Regions from separate parts of the Homo sapiens genome. Here region 2 is linked to region 1. Evidence: promoter capture Hi-C in 16 types of primary human blood cells and fetal thymus (Javierre and others, 2016). All regions are on one chromosome and are shown on one strand. Each heading gives the region's core, a stretch centred on a gene start or on the middle of the fragment in contact. The rest is flanking DNA. Distances are from core to core; before and after follow the strand shown.

Region 1 (3,356 bases), core at 318-2,817:
GTCATTGGTTACGGCAGCCACAGAAAACAGACAGTGCGCACATCCGCATGGTCCCCTCTCCAGCTCTTGCCTGATAGGCATAAACGAGGGCAGCTGGGCGCGGTGGCTCACGCTTGCAATCCCAGCACTTTGGGAGGCCGAGGCGGGTGGATCATGAGGTCAGAAGATTGAAACTATCCTGGCCCACATGGTGAAACCCCGTTTCTACTAAAAATACAAAAAATTAGCCAGGCGTGGTGGCACGTGCCTGTAGTCCCAGCTATTCAGGAGGCTGAGGCATGAGAATCGCTTGAACCTGGGAGGCAAAGGTTGCAGTGAGCCAAGATGGAGCCACTGCACTCCAGCCTGGGCGACAGAGAGAGATTCTGTCTCAAAAAAAAAAAAAAAGAAAGAAAAAAAGTAAAAAAGAAAAAAAGGAAATAAACAAGGGCTTGCCCTGTAGTTCACATCTGGACCACCCAGCTTAAAATAGGGCAGGGGAGTTCAGGAATAGCTTTGCAACCCTTGTGTTACGGTGCACAGGTGTGCAAAAATTCTCCTTGAACTCCCCCTTCAGTGTCCCCCCAGGGCTCATGGCCACTGTCACTCTGTGCTAGTTGCTCTTCAGACCAGGGAACAGACTTGGCCATGGCTATGGCCAGGGTCCAGCTGCTATTGCTCCTCCTGTCACCCACCCACCTTTTGTCTCCAACAAGGATGTTGAGAGGAGCCAGGCACCAGCCTCCCTGGGTTCAGGTCTTTCCTCTCCCCTCACTTTCCTATGAACTAGGGGTGGGGGAGGAGGAGTGCCTGCCAGGAGGTCACTGCAGCCAAGGAACCCAAATTGGTGTGCTTGAGAATGACCCATGGATACACTTTCCAAAGAGTCACCCGGCTGCGATGAGGGGCCATCTCCCCTCCTGGAGCCAACAGCCATGAGTAGCTGTCACACACATCCGTGCAGCACCTAGACACACATCCGTGCTGTCCACTCCGTGCTGCTGCAATTGTGGGGGAGGAAGGTGGCACAGTGGCAGCGACACACACTTCCCTCTCCAAAATTGGGGCGGGGCTCCTCAAAATCCTCTGACCAGCATTAAAGATTCAGAATTTGATATTATGGCTGCATATAATGTTGAATTATCTGAACTTGCTGCACGTGTGTGTGTGTGTGTGTGTGTGTGTGTGTGTATTGTTGGTAGGACCAAAACGGTTAATTATCAGCAATTTCATGGTTTGACCTAATATTTTAAAAGAGAGGTTCTTACCTGCTGGAAGCATGTACTGGTGTATTACGGATGAGACGGTCTCATAGGTGGAATTTGCTGTGAAATGCCCCAGGAAACAAAAAGCCAGAGGTCAGAGTGATGAGAGCTGGGGACGGGTGGATGGGTTCCTGGGCCGTTCCCTGTAGTGCTGAGTGTGCTTGGAAGTGTCCACAATGAGGAGTAGAAACGAGTACAAAGCTGGGTGGAGACAGCCCTGTCCTGGCTGCCCTGAGCTCGGCCCTGTCAGTCGCCTTGAGGAGGGTTGGGGGGAGCAGGGATGCAGGGTGGCGCGTGCATGCCAGGTGGCAGGCGGCAGGTGCTGGCTCCAGGCCCGTCTCCAGCCCCAGGGCTCCAGGCCATGCTCCGCCCCCAGCTGCCCTGCAGCTCCAGGCCGGCCACGCTGCCGCCTAGTTTCGCAACTCCAATGTCATCACCTAGGTGACAGGGACGCTGCTGCCACCGCCCGCCTGCGGGAGCCAGGAGCCAGCCGAGGGCCACTTCCACCTGGCCCCACCGACCCTCCGGGGCCCAGGCTTAGCCAAGGTAGGCTTGGGCTTGGCTCGCCCTCCTCTCGGCCTGAGTCGGGGGGAGTCTCCTTGCCACCGTGGGTGCAGTGGCTCCGGGGGCCCACCCTGGGGTGCAGAGAGCCCCTCTACGGCCTCCCAGGAGGCGGCTTGGAAATGCAGTACTGTTCAGGCCAGGGTGGGGAGGCCTTGCCCACAGTTCTCCTGATGGGACAAGCCACAGCTCTGGGGAGCCATCTGCCCCAAGTGGCACATCAGGGCTCCTCGTGTGACCCTAGGATCGGGGGCAGAAGTGGCTCTGGTACCGCCACCTCCACCCCTTGGACCCACCAGGAGCTCTTTCCACTTCCTGCCAAGGAGGCGCAGAGTGACTGCCCCAGCCTGGCACGTCCGGGGGCTTCCCGGCTGGGGGCCGCCATCCTCAGCCTCACACAGCTGATCCAGAACCTCCCAGTTCTCCCCAGCCCCCTCACTCTTTTGTGGCCCCGGAGCCTCTCCCGGCAACAGCAAGCCATGCCCCGGCCTCCCCGGCACTCACGCAGCTACTCCCAAGCCTGACCATGACGTGGACGGCAGGAAGGGGCTGGGCATGTCCTGTTCCTTCTGCCTGGGTCCTGCTTCCAGGGCTGGACTCCCAGGCTGGGGAATCCTCAGGGACCCATCAAACTGGGGGACAGGGGAGGGGCTTGTGGGGATTTGCTGTGAGGAGGGCAGAGTGTGTACGTGGCAGTGCCTGCGGACACATGTGTGCGCATATGTGAATAGGTGTGTCCATGTGCATGTATGTGCAAGTGTGTTGCTAGAGGTGAGAGGGTGGGTAGGGAAACTGAGTGACCAGCTCCTCCCTGAAGCCTTGGGGGAATGTCCGAGGGGCCAGGGCCTCTGGATCCTGTTCCCTTGGCTCTTTGCAAAGTCTCCAGCCTGGCCTCCTGGATGGGCATGTGGCTCGGGGGGCGAGACCATGGGCTCTTCCTGGCTTGCTGTGTCGCTCTGGGTGCGTTTTACACCACTCTGAGGATCTCTCTGCTCATCCCTAAGGCAGGGATGATGATGGGGCCAGGGGACCACATGGGCACAGGTAAGGCAGGGATGATGATGGGGCCGGGGGACCACATGGGCACAGGCTTCTGGAATGTGGGTGTCGTCTCCCTGGGGTCCCGCAGTCTGAACTCAAGACTCAAGAGCCCCATGTCCAGGTGGGGATGTACAGGAGCCCCTTAGAAGTGGGGAAGAAGGCCAGGCGTGGTGGCTCACATCTGTAATCCCAGCACTCTGGGAGGCTGAGGCGGGTGGATCAACAGAGGTCAGGAGTTCGAGAGCAACCTGGCCAACATGGTGAACCCTGTCTCTACTAAAAATACAAAAATTAGCTGGGCGTGGTGGCGCACACAGCTGTAATCCCAGCTACTGGGGAGGCTGAGTCAGAAGAATCATTTGAACCTGGAAGGCGGAGGTTGCAGTGAGCTGAGATCGTACCACTGCACTCCAGCCTGGGTGACAGAGCGAGACTCTATCTCAAAAAAAATAAAATAAAATAAAAAAGATAGGAAAAGAAAAAGAAAAAGTGAGGAGAAATGAGGAGGAA
Region 2 (3,356 bases), core at 315-2,814, 140 kb before region 1:
CTGCTCATTCCAGGGACAACGGCCCACCCTGGAGGCAAATCCACTGTCCCTGTCCAGCCCCAGGCCAAGCCCCACACGGGGCAGGGGGCAGGCCAGAGAGGCCCCAGACAGCTGCGACATGAACCTGGGGGGAGCCATCTGGTGAGAGACGAGTGGGCTCAGAGAGCGGCTATTTTAAGGAACAGCTGGGCCAGGATCCTGCTGCTGCCCTCGGCTAGATACGAGACTATGGACTTTGGCAGCCTCACAAGAGAACTGTCAGCACACTGGCACACAGCGACACGGCTGTGCCAACACGGGCTGGTTCACCAGGAGCCTGGCGAGACCTGCAGTGTCTACCAGGCTGGGAGGTGGAGGAGCCTCAGGGAGCCCATGGGGCCCCCAGCGACCACCACCCACGTCCCACAGCTCCCAGCCCAGGACTACACAGGCAGGTGGACAGGCATGGCTGGGCTGCCTCGAACCAGCTGCCTCTGCAGAAACCACCCAAGACGCGCCCCTTCCGAAGCCCACCTGGACTTATAGGAAACTTGGAGGGCTCTGGGCCCCTGCCAGAAAGCTCCGCTCAGGGCAGTTATCAAGTTCCAAGCCCTGCTTTGTCCCCACACTTGCCACGGGGTCCTCACCCCCAGGGAGCACACACCATTACCTATGGGCCCTTCTCCTCTCTCCCCCAAAAGCTGGAGCACGCTTTAGACCAGGACAGGGGCTCCCAGCTCCCGAGCGCCCAGCGACACCCAGCCAGAGGCCTTGGATGCTTCGCAGTCGCAAGGCATTTAGTGGCACTGTGGGTGGACCTGGCCTTGGCTGAGCCGCCCAGCCGGAAGGCTGCCTACCCAGCGAAGATGGAGCCTGGGCTGCCCTAGGCCAAGTGACCAAGCCAGGGAATGAAGGAAGCCTTTGCCACACTGAGGGCGTGGTGCTTAGTCCTTCACGCAGGAGAGAGGCAGAAGCTCGGCCTGGCACTCGAAACAGCTAAGGAGGGGTGACGTCTCTAAGGAGCCATTTCAGGGCCCCCCGCCAGCCACTGCCTACCCCCGGGTGATGCGGCTGACGACTCACTGGGAGCCGCAAACCCCACACTCCCTCCTCCAATTCCACCCCCTCCTCCAATTCCCGAGGGTGCCCAGCTCCAAGCTCTGTGGATCCCAGGGAGTTCAAAGCAACCACCTGGAGGGAGGCGGGCCTAGTGCAGGCGCCAGATCCCAGCTGCAGAGAGAGGCAGGACGGAACGAGAGCAGGGCTGTAACCTGCTTCCCAGGCCACCAGGGTTCTCAGCTGCCCATGCCTGTGGGGCTCCAGGAAGAACGGCACCTGCCACATCCACAGACAGGACCCCAAAGGGGCTGAGCTCTGGAGACCCCGGAGACTCAGCTCCGGGGGTCTCAAAGGGCCTTTGTCTCCAGCCTGCCTTTTCACTTGACCCGCAGAGTCGCCAGTGCCATGGGGAGCGGGGAACCCTGCTCCCACAGACAAAGTCAGGGGATGTTTTTCTTTCCTCCGGTCAAGGGACCTGGCTGTTAGTAGCCTCTGCCGACAGCCCTGAGAGGGGACGGGGGTGACCGACTCCTCAGCGCCCACGGACCCTGTCCCAGAAGCAGGCGCGCCTGCCGGGCACTGCCCCGCCCTGCTCCCTCCAGCCTAGCAGGCAGCGCCCTGGCGCAAACTTTAAAAACAGGAAACAAAGGGAGCGCGCCGGGGAGCGCCCTGGCCCCGCCCGCCCTGCCCAGGCTCGCCCGGCGCCCACCTGGCCTCTGGTCACCGGCGCTCACGGGGTAGCCGGCCTGGCCCAGGTGACATGGGTAGCAGCCCCTCCAGAGGTAGCGGTAGTGCGTGCCCGCGACGCGCGCCAGGCCCCCCAGGAGCCCAAGGCACCAGAGCGCGGCCAGCCCGCGGTCCCGGGACGCCCCCATGGCCTGGTAGGCCGGCGGGCGGGAGGGGGCGAGGACCAACCGCGCTGCGCCCTAAGCCGGCGGCCGGGCGACGGGGCAGGCGGCTCGGGCTGGTTCTGGGTTCCGGGCGGGCGCGCAATCCCAGCCCCGGGATCCGCTCCGCTCGGCGCCGCCCGGGAGCCGCTCTGGGCCGGGCGCGCCCCGCCCCTCGCCTTTAAGTTCTCAGCTTTCCCTCCGCCCCGCAGGTAAAGGCCAAGTCCGCAGACAACCGAGGGAGCCGCCCCCGGCCCCGCCCCGAGCCCCGCCCCACCTCCCCCAGGGGGCCGCGCCGGCCCGCCCGCCCCGCGCATTCCAGCGTGCGCGCTCCCGGACCCGGACGCAGATAGGGACCTAGGCACAAACGCAGACATCCACATGTGACCCACAGACACAGGCACACAGACTCACGTGTGCAAACATGCACACAGGAGGTACACAGACACGCACGGACATACGCACAGGCACACACATGCACAAACATGTGTGTTCTTGGAGCCAACACGGAAAAGAAGCCAAAGCAGCAAAGGGAGCCGTCCTGGCCGGGCCGCGGGGCGGGGGAGGGGGGCCGCGGGGCGGGGGAGGGGGGCCTGCAGAGGCGGCTGGTGGGGCTGAACTCTGACAAGGGTGGGGAAGATGGGGAACTGGTTTGAAGCTGCAGCACCGATGTGGAAACATGGGCTGAGACACCCCCAGTCCCCACGTCCAGTGCCTGCACTGTCCTGTCCTCCCCTGGCCCAGGGCCCCATACTTGGAGGGAGCCTGGGCGAGGGAAAGCTGGCATCCCTGCAGCAGGTGGTGACGGACAGAGAGCAGGGAGAACTTGCCTGCAGGGTGGCCAGCAGTGCCCAGGTGTCAGGCTGCAAAGGCCACGGAGGTGCTTCCAACCCCAGAGCCCTGGGTCCCCACGCTCCTCGAGGGCATAGCCCGGGGGAGGCAGTCCTCCCAGGGTCGGCAGCAGAAGGAACCACAGATTAGAGCCTCGTCAAGCACTTAACCTCTGCAGGAGAGCCAGGGCTGTGATTCCGGCTTGGATCAGAGTCCCCAGAGCCCCCCATCCTCTCTGAGCCCCTTCTCGCACCTATCCTTGGTCGGGGGTCACTGGGCTCCCACTCCTAGCCTCCATGGAGATGGAAGAGCTGTGACCAGCAAGCTGTGGTGCTCAATGACCCTCAGCAGTGATCCCTGCCTGGGACCAGCCCAGCACCACCTCCAGCACTGGCGGTGAGGGTCCACAGAAGGACTGGGCGCCCGCCCACACTGTTCCCGGCCTTTCCAGGAAGGCCCGAAAATCTCCCTCCGAAATGCAGTGGAAGTGTCCCTGGAGCTCAGCCTGTTCCCAGAGATGCAGCCTGTGTCTCCTCCCAGAGGACAATAGGTGAGCGGTGGGCACAAAGCCACATGACTGGGGCCACTGCAGAGACAGAA

The links. Contacts are between HindIII fragments. The CHiCAGO score rates a contact against its expected background, and 5 or more counts as called.
Region 2: a fragment that was not itself captured here is called in contact with the fragment with the promoter of TP73-AS3 in region 1 in 1 of 17 cell types (neutrophils); the score reaches 6.9 in neutrophils.

What each region holds. Positions count from the first base shown.
Region 1 is chr1:3,667,378-3,670,733 of GRCh38, forward strand. It overlaps TP73-AS3 (TP73 antisense RNA 3), which reads right to left and starts at 1,568. Exons shown (of 3, transcript NR_187362.1): 1 at 1,248-1,568. The region is part of intron 1 of TP73 (tumor protein p73); the gene reads left to right. The HindIII fragment of the contact is 8,914 bases long and covers 1-3,356 here.
Region 2 is chr1:3,529,333-3,532,688 of GRCh38, forward strand. All of the region lies in intron 4 of MEGF6 (multiple EGF like domains 6), which reads right to left. Among named protein-coding and RNA genes, the nearest start is that of MIR551A, 30 kb to the right of the region's middle. RefSeq lists enhancers at 1-632, 1,321-2,006. The HindIII fragment of the contact is 3,584 bases long and covers 1-3,356 here.